Linked DNA regions of Homo sapiens: region 1 is linked to region 2. Evidence: promoter capture Hi-C in 16 types of primary human blood cells and fetal thymus (Javierre and others, 2016). All regions are on one chromosome and are shown on one strand. The core of a region is centred on a gene start or on the middle of the fragment in contact, and the rest is flanking DNA. Distances in the headings are between cores, read along the strand shown. Region 1 overlaps GRK5 (G protein-coupled receptor kinase 5). Region 2 holds the start of EIF3A (eukaryotic translation initiation factor 3 subunit A).

What was found. The method cuts DNA at HindIII sites, captures the fragments that hold promoters and counts their contacts. A CHiCAGO score of 5 or more calls a contact.
Region 1: a contact is called between a fragment that was not itself captured here and the fragment with the promoter of EIF3A in region 2, in 1 of 17 cell types (neutrophils). The highest score is 6.0, in neutrophils.

What each region holds. Positions count from the first base shown.
Region 1 is chr10:119,208,657-119,214,279 of GRCh38, forward strand. The region is part of intron 1 of GRK5 (G protein-coupled receptor kinase 5); the gene reads left to right. It overlaps GRK5-IT1 (GRK5 intronic transcript 1), which reads left to right. Exons shown (of 2, transcript NR_186528.1): 2 at 2,825-4,048. It also overlaps the pseudogene RN7SL749P. Among named protein-coding and RNA genes, the nearest start is that of GRK5-IT1, 3.0 kb to the left of the region's middle. The HindIII fragment of the contact is 977 bases long and covers 2,398-3,374 here.
Region 2 is chr10:119,076,597-119,082,294 of GRCh38, forward strand. EIF3A (eukaryotic translation initiation factor 3 subunit A) reads right to left here and starts at 4,221. Exons shown (of 22, transcript NM_003750.4): 1 at 4,032-4,221. The coding sequence starts at 4,080. RefSeq lists a silencer at 3,686-3,945 and enhancers at 3,951-4,713, 4,141-4,435. The HindIII fragment of the contact is 5,277 bases long and covers 1,288-5,698 here.

The DNA.
Region 1 (5,623 bases), core at 1,636-4,135, 130 kb after region 2:
GTGCTGGTGCTTTAGATACGTTTTCTATGCAAATCATTAGATTTCCTGCATTTAGCTGGCAGGAAATATTGTCTAAATGGAGTGTGTAAGATCCTGAGTCAAACCCTAAGAACGCATATTTTGACTCTTCCTTTTGATGAAAAACAGAAAAAAGGGGGGGGAGGCAGAAACTTGGGTGCTTCCTGAAATGATTGTGTTGTGTCCATGTAAACATATGTATTTAGGAATACCTGGAATTTATGTCGCATATTTTCCTTTTTTTTTTCTGGTCAAGATTTGAGCTCTAGTGTGCGACCTTTTTCATAAAAGGGGAAGAGGTTTTTCCCTTTCACGGGAGAACGCTTTATTTGATACAAGGTAGAAGGCAGACTGAGTAAGGGCTTGAGTTTAGAAGGATACTCGGTGAGCAGCCCATGAAAATGTCTTACCTGCTTAATATTTTCATTCACCTACTTTGATGAATGAAGGGAAGAATTTCTGGCCAGCAATAAAACGATTCGTGTTTATTCAGCCCGTTCCATCACCTTGTGGCTCCCTACACACTGTGGGGGTAGGTGATGCATAGCCTTCCGTGGGCAGCGTTTCAGCAACTCAACCCGGCATTCGTGTCTTACTTTCGTCGTCACTTGTCACTCTAAAGCAGCCAGTGGGCAAGAAGGTTTATTTCAGAAGCCCCGAAGGGAGGCAGTGCTTTGAAAACCCCAGCAGAGTTTAAAATATTCAGGTTAGTCTCCCTCCCATTGCTTAGCTTTGGTGGGAATAAATTTTTAGGAGAGGCTTGTTACTTGGTGACTTCAGGTTCTAAGGCCTGAGCTGTGTGTGTGTGTGTGGTTTTTTTTTTTTTTTTTTTTTTTTTTTCCTAACCTGACATTTTTAGTGGACAGGATCTAGGTGGGTGCTGGTAGGCTCTCCTCTGGGTTGGGGAATGGTCCTGAAAGGGAGGAAGCAGAGAAAACAGCCCTCCACCTCCCCCGCCCCTCTTTCAGCCTTTGCAGCTGGCCACCTAGTGGTGGGACACGGTTGTGTATCTCAGGATTCGGGGGCTGGGAAAGTTTTCACTCTCGCTCCATTCTGAAATTATTTCTTGGGAAATCACTGGGTCTGATGGTACTGGAGCCTTGCAAGTTTCGCTGGTTCCTCCTGTTGCCCAGGGAATCTGCCCCCGACATTTGCTGCTGTAGATATTTGTTTGCCTGATAGATGCTTTTTTTCTTCCCTGAGCATTTGGTTGCTTCTTTTATAATGCTTTGCTTAGAGTGGGCAAAGTGATATCAATTCCACCCGCCCCCTCCAAATTGTTCTCCCCAGTATTTTTTCACCAACGTGAATTTACTGTCTGATATTGTTGTTCGTTAGGCCAACAAATTGGGTTTTTTTCCCAGAGCCTTGGAGAAGAGAGCTGCAGGCTGGAAGCTTGTGTGGAGTGACCGACTCCCATTGGGGCAGAATTACAGTGATTGAAAGTGCTCAAGAATGTGCCTTTCACTTTTTTTTTTCCTTTTAAAGGCTTTTTCAATTTTGCTGTGAGAGTTTGGTCGTCATCTCATGGTGAGAAAATAGCTCTTGATGATGCCTTGGAAATGGAGAGGGCCTGCGGAAGCAGGGAGAGACTGACACGTGAACAAGAAAAATTAATCATTTAATGGAAACCTCATTTACAATTTGCATCTCTCCCCTTCTTTCTCTCTTATGCCTAGAGGAAAGCCATGATTTTAAGTGCTTCCAGTTTCTTTTGGCTGGGCCTTTATTAGAGACTTGAGCCCATATATCCTAATTAGTGTGGACACTTTTAGAAATTAAAGCAATTTATGTTTCTCTTCTCAGTTCTCATATATTTGAATTTATTTTACTAAACTTAGTAGTTCTCCAAATAACCATATTATCTAAATATTCAGAAATGAAATCTTCAGTCAGTTTAGTGAAATATCTAATATAAAACAGTATATTAAAAAAATCTGAGTTGTTTAAAAGGTTTAAAAACACTTCTTAAAGATTCTTGTCAGTGGTTACAGATGAGAAATATAATTGGCAAATGTGAAATTTAATTTAGTTCACTTAACAAAATACACCGTAAGCAATTTAAAATTTGGCTTTCAAGTAAAAGTCACATTTGTCCCAAACAATAGAGAAACAGACCTTGAAGAAAGACAGGCACACTTTGAAAATGCTGTAAAATAATTTGTAGTTGTCCATGTTGGTGGGTAACACTGGGACCTATCTTTTCTTTTTGTTTTGCATTAAAGACAGATGGCTCCTAAATTCACTGTATCTTCAAAGTCTTACCGTAATAAGACATAATATAAAGTGGAAAGCATTAATGTAGCAATAAAATAGAAAGCCTGTAAGTGGATTAGAGTAAAATGATGGATTGTTAGTAATTAGAAAATATAGCAAGCAAGCTTCATGAACACTTGTGATAATTATTTTAAAATAAGAAAAGGTAGAGGTATGGGTTCAAGATTTTGAACCACGGAAATGTATTTTGGGGCCTGTTTATTTGTCCTGGGTCTCATGAGAAAACATCAACTCGATCACTCTTAGGAACTTTAGATTGCTCTCCTAAAAAGTGCTTAAGGAAAAAAAGAAAGAAGTTGAGACTGAATTCATGGCAATTTATGGGAATGAGCTAAGTGATTAAGCATTTCATGAAAAAGAGGCCCAGACTAACTCTATCTATTTATTTACATTTCAGAATCTCAGAAAATTGGCAGGCGACCTAATGTTGAAATAATAATGAGAAGGAGAGTTTGCTGAGTGCCTTTTGTGTGTTTCTTTTTGGTTTTATTGTTGCAGTAAAGGTTTTTGTGTTTTTCTCATCTTCTAGATCTGTTGCCTTTCTTCTGAGTGAACAGTGGTGAGAAAAAATTTTGCAAGGCCCCGCTTTTCCTTTCTTCACAGGCCAGCAGTAGCCATATCTGATCAAAAAAGATACCTGAAGGAATATTGATCACATTTTCCTGAGGCCCTAGCAAGCACAGGAATTGAGAAGTTAGGACTGGAACAACTTTGTCATTTGTCACAATTGCCAAACATTAGAATACACAGGAACCGTTTTTTCAGGTAACTCTGTGACTTGGCTGGATCTTCCTGATCATCAAGATTAGCACCTCGGGGCCTGGAAGAGGTTAGGGAGGGCAGGAAGAAGGAGTGAGCCAGCATCCAGCTCTGCGTGGGGCAGGCTATGGCGTGGACAGACTTAACATTCCACAGCACGGCTGAAAGCCCTGGACCTCTTTCCCTTGCACCCCTAATTCATGGTGATAAAACCAAAACATGGTGAATTAGGTTATTAGAACGTTGGAACATCTCTGAAGCTCAAAGCCCTCTTATGGCTATGTGAAGGCATACGTGGAGGCATACGTACTCCACCCTGAAGCTTCTCCTTCAATTTTAATGTTAATCTTACCAAGCGACAGCTTTCATCCTGGTTAAGGCAGCTCGGTGTGTGTAAAAGCAGCCTGGCCTGTTAAACACAATGCCGTTAAATCAAACTGCCTTTCTTTTTTTTTTTTTAAAGTTTCCTTTTCAGTACTGACAACTTGGAGGTAGAGAAACCAAAAGCAATGTTTTCAGAAGGCCTTTTGCTTTCTTAAAGATTTCAAACGATGATTGTAGTTAATCTGGCTGCCTGTTTGAAAAACCATCAGATAAATGCCCACAAGGCTCTCATCTTTCAGTAGCTTAGCTGCTGCTTGTCAGATTCTAAACTCCAAAGTGCTTGACTCTTCCAGTGCCCAAACTAATCCTTGTTTAAATTATGTCTTCAGAAGCTATAACTCTTATAGTGGCTTGCTAAATGATACCCTTTGGATCTGGGCTGAAGACTTCCAGAATGCCCAAGTGAATTTCAGGAGCGGGCTCAATGTTTAACCAAATTCACCTTTACCAAGGGCTATTCAATCCATATCTGGGATGTTTTAAATAAAACTATCCAGGACTGTGGGCAATATTCAAAGTTAATATTTGTTGCCAATATGTTTGGAGTGCAAGATAAAGCATTATAATGTCTAGACATTTTTGAAATAAAAAAGTCTTCTGGTTACCAAAAGGCATTATTGTCATAGGTCATGCAACTCAGAGGTGAAACTTGAGAAAACAGAAAGTGACTACCAACAGGTGACACATTGAGAAGATAATTAGGAATTTCCTCAATCATACAGCCCTCAGCACCCATTTCTCACATCAAAATAGAATGGTGGAGCCGAGTGCGGTGGCACAGCCTGTGGTCCCAGCTACTCTGGAGGCTGAGGAAGATCATTTGAGCCCAGGAGTACTGGTCTGGAGCGAACTATGCCTATTGGGTATCTGCAGTAAGCTCGGCATCAATATGGTGACCTTTCGGGAGTGGGGACCACCAAGTTGCCCAAGGAGGGGTGAACTGGCTTGGTGGGAAACAGAACAGGTAAAAACTCCATGCTGATCAGCAGTGGGACTGCATCTGTGCATAGCCACTGCCCTCCAGCCTGGGCAACACACAAGACCCTGTCTCTAAAAATAAATAAATAAATGAATGGAATAGAAGAGAATATTGAAGACAAGGGGATGAAGGCATGATTTTAAATGACTAAAATGGTCTGGGCATGGTGGCTCATGTCTGTAATCCCAGCACTTTGGGAGGCCGAGGCAGGCGGATCACCTGAGGTCAGGAGATTGAGATCAGCCTGGCCAACATGGTGAAATCCTGTCTCTACTAAAAATACAAAAATCAGCGGGGTGTGGTGGTGCCCGCATGTAATCCCAGCTACTCGGAAAGCTGAGGCAGGAGAATCACTTGAACCTGGGAGGTGGAGATTGCAGTGAGCCAGTATTGCACCACCGTACTCCGGACTGGGTGACAGAGTAAGACTCTGTTTCAAAAAAGAAAAATAAAAAATTAAAATGTATTATGGCCTTAAATAATAGGGTTGATTTCCACTTTAAAACATATCCTGTTATATTTCAGTGAAAATTTTTATTTAAAAATATTCTAAATATTGAAAAGATGTATTTTGGGGGGGCAGAGATAATGTCATTCCTTTTATTACCATCCAAAAACTGGAAGAAGCATTTCATTTTGTGAAAACTGTGCTGCTTTTAAAAGAGAAAGTCCTTACTTCCTGACTGGACCCTTCCCCCACCCCTGCTTCTCATTTTGAGGAAACCATTCTTGAATAGGCTTCTGAAAATCTTACAAGAGTAAAATTTATTTGTTCAGCATTTGGTTGTTGAAGGACCCAGTGCGGAGGTGACATTCGGGTGTCAGCCTCAGATAATACAATGTGAAATGACTGAAAAGATGCAATTGGGCACTGCCGTTCTCTTTTTACATGTTTTTTTGTTTGTTTTTTGTTTTGTTTTGAGACAGAGTCTGCTCTGTCGCGCAGGCTAGACTGCAGTGGCGCAGTCTGGGCTCACTGCAACCTCTGCCTCCCAGGTTCAAGCGATTCTCCTGCCTCAGCCTCCTGAGTAGCTGGGATTACAGGCGCCCACCATCAAGCCTGGCTAATTTTTGTATTTTTAGTAGAGGCGGGGTTTCGCCATGTTGGCCAGGCTGGTCTCAAACTCCTGGCCTCAGGTGATCTGCCTGCCTTGGCCTCTCAAAGTGCTGGGATTACAGGCATGAGCCACTGCACTCAGTCTCTTT
Region 2 (5,698 bases), core at 2,971-5,470:
AGTCTTCTCCTGGTCTTCTCCTATATAGTGCATGTAAGGTTATTTTCTAAAATGTAACAGTACAGCCAGGCGCCTTGGCTCACACCTATAATCCTAGCCCTCTGGGAGGCCAAGGCATCACTTGCGGTCAGGAGTTCCAGATCAGCCTGGGCAACATGGTGAAACCTTGTCTCCACTAAAAACACAAAAATTAGCCAGGCATGGTGGTGCATGCCTGTAATCCCAAATACTCGGGAGGCTGAGACTTTAGAATCACTTGAACCCAGGAGGCGGAGGTTGCAGTGAGCCAAGATTGCGTCACTGCACTCCAGCCTGGGCAATAGAGGGAGAGACTCTGTCTCAAAAAAAAAAAAAAAAGAAAATGTAACAGTACATTAGGCGTTCTTCATAACTAACAAAAACAGTCTCTTATCAGCAAAAAACTTGGGAGTAAATGCGTTTAATGGAATTTATACTTTAAGAAAATCACAGCAGCAGCACTAAAATGACCTATTGTATCCAACTCCTAATCTAAAAAGGGCTTGCTTAAAGATGGAACTGAAACCATTTTTCACTTCCTGAACAGCCAATTAGAAGTTGATTCCTTAGCCAGGCGCGGTGGCTCACGCCTGTAATCCCAGCACTTTGGGAGGCTAAGGCGAGCAGATCACTTGAGGCCAAGGGTTCAAGATCAGCCTGGGAAATATGGTGAAAAAAATTAAAAAATTAGCTGGGCATGGTGGGACACACCTGTAATCCCAGCTACTTGGGAGGCTGAGGCAGGAGAATCGCTTGAGCCTGGGAGGCGGAGGTTGCAGTGGGCCGAGATAGTGCCACTGCACTCCAGCCTGGCCAACAGAGAGAGATTCTGTCTCAAATAAATAAATAAATAGTTGGAATGGGAACAGATTTTTCATAATCCATGACAGTGAGTCTTCTGCCTTTGTCCTAATTTATATACAAGAATTTAGTTCCTCCGAATTTTTTTTTTTTTTTGGAGAAGGAGTCTCGCTCTGTCACCCACGCTGGAGTGCAGTGGCGCAATCTCAGCTCACTGCAAGCTCCACCTCCTGGGTTCATGCCATTCTCCTGCCTCAGCTTCCTGAGTAGCTGGGACTACAGGTGCCCGCCACCACACCAGGCTAATATTTTTGTATTTTTACTAGAGACGGTTTCACTGTGTTAGTGAGGATGGTCTTGATCTCCTGACCTTGTGATCCACCCGCTTCGGCCTCCCAAAGTGCTGGGATTACAGGCATGAGCCACCACGCCCGGCCTCCTCTGAATTATTTAATAGTGGCCGGGGGAAGCTTTTGAGACTGGAAAGAACTATGATAAACTAAAGGTTCTATTTCAATACTTAAATATTGACTTCCAGATTAATATTATAGAAATAAAAATTAAAATCTAGAATTATAAACCTTACTGGATGGGTGAGCATTTGGAGCATACCTTTCAAATTCATTACTGAAAGTATGTATAAAGAAGTTTACATCAGCCCTTGATGTTTGCTAGTTTATTTGTGCAACAGACCAAATGGATATGCTATGTTACTCAATTTGTGGCCTTAATAGCTTTATTTTTCAAAGGCACTGGTTGTAGAACATAAACTATAATAAGGTCAGCAGCAGTTAGTGTGGCACCACTAATGATATAATATGAAAAAGGGGCCTTCTCCAAATGATTACAGGATACGAAATTCTTGCCTGTAACTGCTGGTCCAAGTTCTCACCTTCCTGAATGACTACTATAATTTTTCCCCCAAAAATTGCTCATATATATGCTTAGGGTGACCTGAACGACTATTCTACTTAAATTTATTTACATTTTATTAAGACAATGCAATAAATTAGGTCTAAATATTGTTAGGATCACAAATATTACATGTAAAACATTTAGATAAAATGAGATTATTTCCAATTAGGGGAATGCCCTTTGATCCTTCACTTATGTTTTGGAAGCAGTGCCCTGGACCATCCACGATCTGCTCACTTTGAGAAGGGATCCCTCACAATCCAAAGGTATGAGTTTCTACTCTGAAGGGAACGCATGCATCCCCATCCAACAGCTTCAAAGGGCTGCAAGGGACCACAGTCTTTTTTAAAAAGCTACACAAACAAAACTCAAGTTTCCCCCCCAGTGTCCCTCATCTTGCCTACTTTAATTTCAGATCCTTTCCTTAACCTGCCCTTCATGAATCAAGCCTGTGTCAATTTAGAAACAGGAAAAAAATGTTTGATGCACATTACATATCTTTTCTATATGAAGTTCTTATGAAGGTTCCAAAAAGAGAAGCGATAAAGGAAACAAGACCCGAACACACCAAATATATAATATGTAGGCCATTATAATGCTTTGGCCTACTAGCACGGGGAAAAAAAAATACCTGTTGGGCAAAGCATGCAAATGACTGTAAAACATCGACAACAGCCATGCAGAGTAGTAATTTCATGCAAATCATTTTGTATACTACAAATTCTAACTTTCGAAACGACGAAAAGTCATAAACTTTGCTACAGTTTGGTTTATAGTGACAAAGTTCCATTTCAATCTCTTCTTTCCGATGTATTAATAAACATCCTAAAACTGCTTGTCTGTTCTAACCATTAGATCACTGGTTATCATTAGAATGAATTAGTGCTCACATCTATGTTGTAGTTTCAATAGGTTTTTAAAACAATTACTCCATTCCACACAATGTGGAATTATCCTATTCCACAGACCAGTTCCCTCCCCGACAAAAAGTGTTACTTTTACTTTAAAAAGTATATGACCAACATATCTCTGGTTCTGCCAAATTATCAGTTTATGTGCTGACTCAAACTGCCATTTTCATAAGATGAATTTTCAAAGAAGCTAACAAAATAAGCTCTCCAAACATAAAACTGTAACTCACAAGGTATATTCATCTACAACATGGGTAAAACCCGAAACTTCTATTTCGGTGAAGGAAGGATGAAAATAAGAGCTATCCATGCCCTAACGATTAGAAAAATTGTCCGGTTAGAGGGGAAAAAAAAAACCCTACACAAAGTTTCTTAAGCCCAGAGCCTAGCCAAGAACATGTGCATCCCCAGAACGCCAATGTAATAAATGCCTTGGAGAGATCGGGGCACACAAGTTTTTCCCTCAAGCGCCAATGGCTGAAGTACACATATAGAAATAGAAATCGCAGACAGCAGCACTGTGGCAGAAAAAAAGAGAAAAAAGGACTGATCTGGATGTCAAGAGACGTTGGTTTTAAGTCTCTTGGCTCAACAACTCCCGGAGTGACCTTGGGGAAACCTCTCTCTAGGCCTGTTTCGTTATCTTTAAGAGGCGACCTGAAGTCCCTTTACATTAACTCTATTCCAACTTCCAGTGATTCGAAACAGGCTTTAGGACTGCTTCTAATCAATGCCAGGAAAAATGAAAAAACAAAAACAAAACAAAACAACAGGAATCAGGTTAAATGGGTCAGAGGCCCCTAAGTGGATATAAAGCAGCTGGGTAAAGGGTAAGTGGACGCCGACCCAGCAAAGCACTGAGCGCGGCTTGGAGAGCGGGGGTGGCTGCGGGAAGGCCGGGGGTGGGTCCGTAGGGCTCCCGGCCCGGGCAGGAGGTGGAGCCGAGGCTCTCGCGTGCATTGTCCCCGGGAGGGAGCCATGTTTCTTACTCCCCGGCACTCCCAGATGGCGGCCGGGGACGCGGGCCCTAAGCAGACCAAAGCCCCAGGGACCTGGAGAGCCAGAGGACGCAGGCAGCAAGGAGGGAGCTCCAGTCCGGGTAGGGGCTGTCTCCCGGGCTGCGGTCCCCGCGACGCACCCGGAGGCGGCAGGGGGAAGGAAAGGCCCCTGGGGCGACGGTTCCGGGCTACGCGCCTCCCAGACCCCAGTCGATAGAGTGAGAAGGAAACCCATGCCCAACCACCGGCTGGGACAGCGGCGGGCAGGCCGCATCGGTCTCCTCTCCCCGCGCGGGCCGGGCGGCGGAGCAGTGGGAAGCAGGCCCGCGCTCTCGACCTCGGAGGCCTCGGGCCGCCCCAGCCCGGCGCGCCCCGATCAGCTACTCACCGTTGGCGCGTTTGAGGGCATTTTCCGGCCTCTGAAAATAGGCCGGCATCTTGGCGGCAGGCTCAGCTCACCCGGCGTCAGCGAACTCTCTAGTGGCCCGGGCCGGGAGAGGAGACGAAGGGGAACCAGCGTAAGGTCCCACGCGCCTCGCCAGCAGTCGCCCGCGCCCAGCCGGCCAGAGACGGAAAGGAAGGAGCCACGTGACCTCCCCGCGGCGGCCCTGCTGCCGCCCAGGCCCCGGATGTAGGGGGCGGGTCTCCGTGCGCGCAAGCGCGCTGGCGTCACGCACGCCGACAGACGTGGCGGCGCCGGAGTCCTAGGCGCGCAAGGTCCAGTTCCCGTCTTGGGCCTGTCCTGGATAGCGTTAGGGAGACAGTTCACAGGCTCTTCAATCTTCGAGCGAGAATTAGGGTGGGAAGGGTGAGTGTGGGGTCAGAGTTTCTGTCTGGAGAACAAGCAAACGTCTGCAGATTGGTTTTCAAAGCGACTTGTGCGGAGTCGTGCAGTTACAGTAAGGTCCCATCCAGCCTGGGAATCGCCTGTCTTGGCTACGTGAAAATGCTGAGTTTAACGAAAACGCAGTGAGCAGGTGTCATCAGGTCAGCGCCGCTCAACCGTGAGAGACAATCATGGGGAAGAGTGACGCCTAAAATAAACAAGCAAGGTTCTTTTATATCTTGGTAAAGTAAAAAGTTTGTGTCACAGGGATTGCCTTGAGAAATGGAGGCTCTCAGAGGGGGCGAATGGGGACAGCGACCTGGCAAAGGGCGAAACGCCCTGGAGCACAGCAGACTTGCTTGGTGTTTGAAAACACACGGAAAGGAGTGTCGTCACTTTTTACATACAGCGCACGTCACAAACAAATTAAGAAAAATTAGTGTTAGTGAAAAAAATCAATCTGAGAGGCCCTTTTATTGTTGCTTAACAATTTTAATGTTCGCAGACGAAGTACTTTACCTAGAATTTGAAAACCATTTGAACCGAATCTAATTCTCAAGCCCTTGGTACGAAATAAAGGTGAGCTCAGAAGGAAAAAAATTTTTTTTTTTTTTGAAACGGAGTCTCGCTTTGTCGCCCAGGCTGGAGTGCAGTGGCACGATCTCGGCTCACTGCAAGCTCCGCCTTCTGGATTCACGCCATTCTCCTGCCTCAGCCTCCCGAGTAGCTGGGACTACAGGCGCCCGCCACTGCGCCCAGCTAATGTTTTGTATTTTTAGTAGAGACGGGGTTTCGCCGTGGTCTCGATCTCCTGACCTCGTGATCCGCCCTCCTCGGCCTCCCAAAGTGCTGGGATTACAGGCGTGAGCCACCGCGCCCAGCCCAGAAGGAAAATTTAGAAGGCAGCAGTGAAATAGATTATTGTCAATGTATTACACATTTAATAGACGAGATATGTGAATTAATGAATGAGGAAATCGGCCGGGCATGGTGGGTCGCGCCTGTAATCCCAGCACTTTGGGTGGCTGGGGCGGGTGGATCACCTGAGGTCAGGAGTTCGAGACCAGCTTGGCCAACATGGCGAAACCCCGTCTCTACTAAAAATACAAAACTTAGGCCTGGCGTGGTGGCTCACGCCTGTAATCCAGGCGCTTTGGGAGGCCGAGGCGGGCGGATCACGAGGTCAGGAGTTCGAGACCAGCCTGACCAAAGTGGTGAAACCCCCCCCC